Regions from separate parts of the Homo sapiens genome. Here region 1 is linked to region 2. Evidence: promoter capture Hi-C in human tissues and cell types (Jung and others, 2019). All regions are on one chromosome and are shown on one strand. The core of a region is centred on a gene start or on the middle of the fragment in contact, and the rest is flanking DNA. Distances in the headings are between cores, read along the strand shown. Region 1 overlaps CLRN2 (clarin 2). Region 2 holds the start of FGFBP2 (fibroblast growth factor binding protein 2).

Region 1 (3,314 bases), core at 732-3,231, 1.6 Mb after region 2:
TTATAACATAAAACTTGAAAACACACACACATAAACAAATAAAAAAAAGAAATGCTAAAAGCTAACCATGACAACTACATGGACTACTCGATTCTGAACTAGATGCTTTGCTATAAAGGATGTCTTCGGGACTTTAGGGGTCAAGAAAACTTCCCCTTTGCACTCTGAAGGTTCTCTAAACAATCTACTGACAAAAGGCAGATTAATAGGGAAAATGGCTTACACATTTATTAGCATGCATAGGGGAAAAATCACAGAGTGATTGTCCGCTATCTCAATGGGGTACAGGTGGTTGTATCCTCTTCATCTTAGGGGAAAGAGAGATGGGGAAGTGTGGATGATTTTAGGGGACTAGTAAATTATTTTTAGGGAAATTCAATGGGCTTAAAGAACATACAGTGAGCTGGGACAAAGTCTGTTGAGCCCACAGAGCAGACATTGGTTTGTGACAAAAGTCTGTCCAGCTGTGTTAACAGACTTTAGTCTTTCTTCCTGTGATATGGGTACAATTAATGAACACTCAGGGAAGGGACCAGAGGTCTTTTTCTTTGGTAGGTCTGGATGTAGGCAGGTAAGGGAATGTCAGAGAACAACCTCATCCTGTGCTTATGAGACAGACAAAGAATGGAGAGACACGAGGGAGAGGGGAGGCCAGAGAGACCTTGAGACTTCTTCACAAAGCTTCATATTTTAGGGGTGTTGGTTTCTGAACCCCAACAGGTAAATCGTTGAAACTTGAATGGGGTGAGAAGATTAAACAGCAGTCACATGCCAGCATTAACCTAATGACCAGACCCCTGCCATTCCCAGCTCACAGAAATGTAAACTGCTTCGAGTAGGAAGCTGCAAACAAATGCATATTTTGTTTGAGCCTTGGAGGAACTCAGTAAGTACTTCTTGCCTTCCTCCTTCTTCCTTCTTAGAAGGACACCAATGGGAAACATTCCCCTGGGTTCATCTAACGTGGTCTGGTCTGGAAAGCATCAGAACCCTGTGAGAAGCATAAAGGACATTTTATTCTTGTCCCTGAGTAGGAGCGTATTTGAGAAGGTTTTGTTTCCTGCTGCCCTGGGGTTGTCTCAGAGGAGGGTCTGTAAACATCCATTCGCAGTACCTTGGATGTGATTCTCTTTCAAAGCATTCACGAGGAGCCTGGGGCCAGGTTCCTCCTGTGCTTGGCTGGCTTTACCCCAGTACAGCTCAGGGACACTGATAGTGCCAGTCTAGTCTCCTTTAGATTTACAGCTTTTAATTCTAGCACAGTGTAACCTCGAGGCAGCTACGGGGTATATCAGAGCCTCCCACAACCAGGAGTCTGTTTCTCCTGGGGTCTCTTTCTGCCATTCACTATCCATCTGTAGAAAAAAAAAAAAATAATCCCCACAGTCGCAGATCAGTGTAGATGGGGACGTAAGTGAAAATGCTTTGCAAACTCTGGGATGGGGAGGTTTATTGGGTCTCGTTCACAAACAGCCACTTTTCTCATCACAGAGGCCTCCCCAAAAAATCACCCAGGGGAATAAATTCCCACGCCAATCATGGAGAAAACCAAAGAACTATCCATCGCAAAGATTAAGGTCCTTTTTTTATACCCAGGCCCTATGAAATAAAAACAAGTCAACATGGCTGTTTGGGTGGCTAGAGAAAGAAAAAGACAAACATTACTTTAGCATTGTCCACACATTCAATTGTACTATGGAGTATTTACAGACCAGGCTCTTAAGAAAACAGGGATGAACAAACCAGACAAGTACTTGCCCTAGAAAAGCTTAACATCTGGCCGGGTACAGTGGCTCACGCCTGTAATCCCAGCACTTTGGGAGGCCAAGGCAGGTGGATCACCTGAGATCAGGAGTTTGAGACCAGCCTGGCCAACATGGTGAAACCACGTCTCTACTAAAAATACAAAAATTAGCCGGGCGTGGTGGCAGGTGCCTGTAATCCCAGCTACTCAGGAGGCTGAGGCAGGAGAATCACTTGAACTTGGGAGGTGGAGGTTGCAGTGAGCCAAGATTGTGCCATTGCACTCCAGCCTGGGTGAAAAGAGTGAAAATCCATCTAAAAAAAAAAAAGAGAAAGGAAAAAGAAAGAAAAATTTACCATCTGATAAAGGAGAGGCAGATAAATATATACTAGGCACAGAACACAGTATCTGAAGCCATTGCCTTGTAGTTCATTTCCTTCCATTTTTACTATGCTAGAGAAGAGATTTTATTACGCCCATTTTACTGATGAGGAAATTAGAGACCAGAGAAATCGATACATAAAATAATTTCTTTAAAAGCACCTAATGTAATAGATTGCTTTGCAGCTTTTAGTTCTCTGGTTCCTCTCTACTTCCTGCCTCACAGGTATTCCACTAGTGGCCAGGACCTGGGTTTGACTTCAGATGTCCTGCTTTTCTTATTTGCCCTGCTGGGGCGAAAAGGACTGCCAGACCTCTCTGGGATTCGGAGCAAACAAATTATCTTAGATGCTGATAGATGCTGATAGATGCATCATATGCTGATAGATGCTGATAGATGCATCATATGCTGATAGAATGATGCTGATAGAATGATTAATCAATTCTGCTTTCAAGTGAGTTGCCTCTAATGTGTAGGAAACAACTATATCTATTCAAATTCAAAATGAGACCTCCAGGATTCAAAAGACTCTATGTTTAGAATTTTAAACCTCTACTTATCTGTGCTTTCTGATTTTTCTGCTCTAGCCCTGTAATAGAGTAGTTAAGCTGACACTTTTCTTGCTGTGGGAGCGTAGCTAAGCTATTTCACTTCTCCGAGCCTCAGTTTCCTCATTTGTAAGCATGAGAGAGGGTGTCCATGAGCAACAGAACAAAGAATATGTATAAAGCCACCGGCACATAGTCTGCACCCCATATAGGTGGCTGTTGTCATTTATCACCATGAATCGTGTTGTCATTTATCACCATGAGTCGTGTGTAGGGTCATGGATTTCAAGCTAGAAACTTAAATTTAATTCCTAGTGGGAGACATCTAAAACTCTTGGAACCTGGATTTCAAATGTGAAAGGCAAGTGAGCAACAGCTTTCCTAGGGCAGCACTGGGTGTCAGGCTAAGGCAGAGTCACCTCTCAGTGAGAAAGTAGAAAGAACTGGTGCATTAACACTCCTGAGAAATGATTTGAATTTCTACTTTTTTCTTCTTTTTTAAAAAATAATTTAATTTAGAGACAGAGCCTTGCTATGTTGCCCAGACTTATCTCCAACTCCTAGCCTCAAGCAATCCCCCCATAATGGCTCCCAGAAGTGCTGGGATTACAGGCATGAGCCACTGCCCCAGCCTCGAATT
Region 2 (3,839 bases), core at 1,136-3,635:
TAAGGTAAAATGGGGCTGTTTGGGTGGGACTTCATCCAGTGTGAATGGTATCCTAACAAAAAGAGATGAGGACACAGACCCACGCAGAGGAATGACAGAGAGAAGGCTGCCATCTATGAGTCAAGGAGAGAGTCCTCAGAAGACACCAATCCTGCTGACACCTTGATCTTGGAATTTCAGTCTCCAGAATTGTGAGAAAATATATTTCTGCTGTTTAAGCCACCCATTCTGTGGTATTTTGCTATGGCAGCCCCAGCAAGCTAATACAGTAGTCCTATGCAGCTTATCTGCAGGATCAAGATATTGTTTTGAGCTTTAGCGCCTGTATGCATCTGTATATACGCTGTACATCTGTCTGTGTAAATACGCATGGATGGATGTCTAAATGGGTACTCTTCTGTTAACATTGTTTATCTCTGTGTGGTGGGATTATGGATGAAGTTTTAAAATTCTTTGTATTTTTCTGTTGTGTTTGAATTTTTCAAATGATTTGTATGTCTTATTTGTAGAAAGACCAAAAAAATCACTTTAAAAAGAAAAAAAAAAGGACCTCCTCTCAATAGTAACTTTTTTTGGCTTAAGTGTCCCCTTTTCTCCTCTGGGACAGATCTGAAATCTTAAACAAGCAGAAAACCTCCAGCCCAGAACAGCAGACACCAAAACAACTTTGTTGTGAACCAACATTTCTTGCTGCCTGGGCGCTTGTAGAAAAAGCCTTATTTGTTTGGTGGTATTCGTTATCAAAGTGCTGTTTATCAGGAAATCTGCTTTGTTCCTATTTTTCTTACATAGATAATATGAAAAAAACTCAGAAACTCTCCTTTTAAACTCAAAGTGCACAAGTAAGACTAGAATCCCATGTAAATGAACTCCTTACTGGTGTGCAAAATTAATGAAAGCTGCTACATTTAAGGATAGAGATCAGTAATAAGCCTTATTTCCACAAGAAAAAGTTTGGTCTTTTAAAAGCAATACTTGGAGTTGATTAAATCTGTTATTATTAATTAGATTTTCTCCTCTGTGATGAACAAAAAACAATTAAAGGCTTTGAGAGCTGTGAGAAAGACTTTAAAGACTATTTGACTCAAACTTTCCTCAGTGCACAACACTCCCCACCCTAACTTGACTGTAGGAGAAAAAACTGAGAACAAGACGGGGTGTGGCGACACCTCCACCATGACATAGCACCTCGGCCACTAACAGCTGCAGCAAATGCTTGGTTCATTAGGAAACGTTACCCGGCAGAATTCCAAAGGCCTCGGTCTAACAGTGAGGTGGTTCCATCACAAGGAGATTCTCAACCTTGGCTGCACATTCAAATCACTTGGGGGAGAGTTTTAAAAGTCCACATTCCTGCGCTACTATGTTGGAGACATAGATGGAACGGTCTGGCGAGGGGCCTGGGCATCAGCATTTTTAGAGCTCCTTGTAGGTGATTCCTATGCAACTCCAGGGTCAAGTGCCACTCCGGATGAACTACCTCATCTACACTGCTCTGCAACAGACAGCCTCAAACCCACCCCCAAACACACGCTGAGACTCTGATGTGGTCGCAGCAGCTGTGAAAGTGCTAAGTGCCTCTCACGTAGTCTCTGTATATAAGTATATACACGTAGTCTCTGTATATGAGTAAAGGAAAGGGTATTACCTGTAGGGGTCTTTCACCTGTCACCCTCGGAAGAAGCTGATGAGAAAGGCGCACAGGGCCTGGAAGGGTTTCCAACAATGTTCCCAGGCCTTCTTCTTTGCTTCCTCATTCCCTCCGGGCCTGGGTCCAGGCTGGGTAGGTTTGGCTGTGGGTCGGGTGGTGGGTTTGGCTTTTCCCAGCTCTTCCATCGAGTCCTTTCCCAGCTGTGTTGCTTCTGTGAGTTTCACTGTGGCCTTGGGCCTCAGAGATGGCGTCCCAGCCTCAGGCTGCTGGTTGGGCTCTGGGCTGCCCTTGAGGCTGGAAGTCACCTGCTGCATATGGGCCTGGGGTCCAGCCTCCCTGCACACGGATGGCCTAAGCACCGGGGCCCCCTGGCACGCATGGTGAAGGCGCCTCAGCTCCTGCAGGGCTTGATTCCAGTAAGGTTTGGGGTCAGCAGCGAAAGCCTGGCACATGCTGGGCTGCCCCCTGTACTCACACCAGTAGGTCTGGTCTGTGTTGCGGCAGTCGACACGAAGCCAGACTTCTCCAGCACCTTGCCCCAAGCTGCTGGGACGCATAGTGCAGGAATCTCTCCCTCCAGTCTGGAAATGGAATTCCTCCCCAGTGCTTCCTTGCTTTTGCCTCGGGGCCTGACCCAAAGTCCCCAGGCAGGACAAGGTCACCAGCAGGAGGCAGGGGACGAACTTCATGGCGATACTCCGATAAACTTGCTTGCAACTCTGCACCAGGAGAGAGAACACAAGTGGGACGAGTCACCCTTTAAAGGGTGCTGCACAAAAGACTCTTTCTCTGCAAGGGTGGGGAGGATGTTTTGCAGCAAATGAGAAACATGCCCACAGACCTTAGACACGTAACACTTGGCAAGGGCAGAGCAGCCACCAGGGGCCGCCCACCACAAGCAAAGGGAATGGTTTTCCTGAGTGCCTCAGAGAGATCTGCCCCAGCCCTGTCACGCACAAAGCGCCACACACAGCTTTGGGGCTGAGGGTTTTACAGTTTTCCAACCACAGGGTGCTTGCTCTAAAATTGGCCCTTGTACGGGAACAGCCTTCTTTGTCAACATTTGGTATATGCCAAGGTGTGGCAGTGGTATTCTGGAAAGTGAGGTTTGCAGCTGGGAGTCTGGGCTGCCTCGAGGCTCCCTCCTGCTCCCTGGAATCCCCATCTTGGGGGACCATGGGTTTAGTTAATCCAAAGGAAGCCAGAATTTTATGAGCCTAAGTGTTATGAGATGGCCTAGCAAATGCAAAAAAGACTATGTGAGGTTGTGTGAGGATGTGTGTGCCAGAGGGACACAGAGACACTCCCCCTCCCACCCACCGAGCTGAGAGTCACCTGGTGTGGCCTCTGTGGGGCTGTCCCGCCATCACCGTGGCCACAGGCCACAGTGCTGCAATGTTCACTTCCCTTGTTATTGCATGCCTTACAATTGCACCAACTGAATGATGACGAGGAAGGCATGCAAATATATGTTCACAGTGGGATTCAGTCTATTTTAGACCATGAATTCTATTTCAAATTCAATTGAAATAACACAGTTTTAATTATATCACAGGAAAATATGATTTTAAATATTATTATTATTGTTCTACAATAGAAAAAAAATAAATTGAAAATAACTTTTGATTCTGTGTCAAGAATCATAGTTTGGTATGGTCATAACTGTCTTTTGATGACCCTTCCAGAGGGCACTGTGGAGTGGACTAAAGGTGGCAATTTGCTGTTAGGAATAGGGTTGACGGATGTTGGGGGACTAGTTTGAATGTGAGGGATTTATCTTGGCGATCCCACGTAGGGTAGTTGGTACCTGGCACAGCCTTCCTTCCACCTGGATATCCTGAGTCCTGAGAAGACCTAGTAGGGCTGGAACTAAAGCCAGGCTGAGCTTCGGCAGCCACTGTGTGTGTAGCAGTGAGAGCCTTCCAGAAGAGGGCATCACCCCAGGTGGGGAGCAGAGGAAGCTTCCAAGAAGTGGTGCCAAACCTTCAAGACAAGTCAGTCAATTTGTCAGGTTGAGAAAGGGTAAAGGGCAGGTGTTTTTTTTGTTTGTTTGTTTGTTTGTTTGTTTTGGCCTCATTCTGTCACCTAGACCGGATTGCACTGGTGTAATTATAGCTCACTGTAGCCTCCAACTCCTGGGCTCAATTACTTCTCCTGCCTCAGCCTCTCAAGTAACTGGGACTACAGG

Evidence for each region. Contacts are between HindIII fragments. The study calls those that stand out against the background at their distance.
Region 1: a contact is called between a fragment that was not itself captured here and the fragment with the promoter of FGFBP2 in region 2, in 1 of the 25 tissues and cell types used here (dorsolateral prefrontal cortex).

What each region holds. Positions count from the first base shown.
Region 1 is chr4:17,516,701-17,520,014 of GRCh38, forward strand. The region is part of intron 1 of CLRN2 (clarin 2); the gene reads left to right. Among named protein-coding and RNA genes, the nearest start is that of CLRN2, 3.2 kb to the left of the region's middle. The HindIII fragment of the contact is 3,904 bases long and covers 30-3,314 here.
Region 2 is chr4:15,960,790-15,964,628 of GRCh38, forward strand. FGFBP2 (fibroblast growth factor binding protein 2) reads right to left here and starts at 2,386. Exons shown (of 2, transcript NM_031950.4): 1 at 1,649-2,386. The coding sequence starts at 2,340. The coding sequence ends at 1,669. RefSeq lists an enhancer at 2,416-3,257. The HindIII fragment of the contact is 18,537 bases long and covers 1-3,839 here.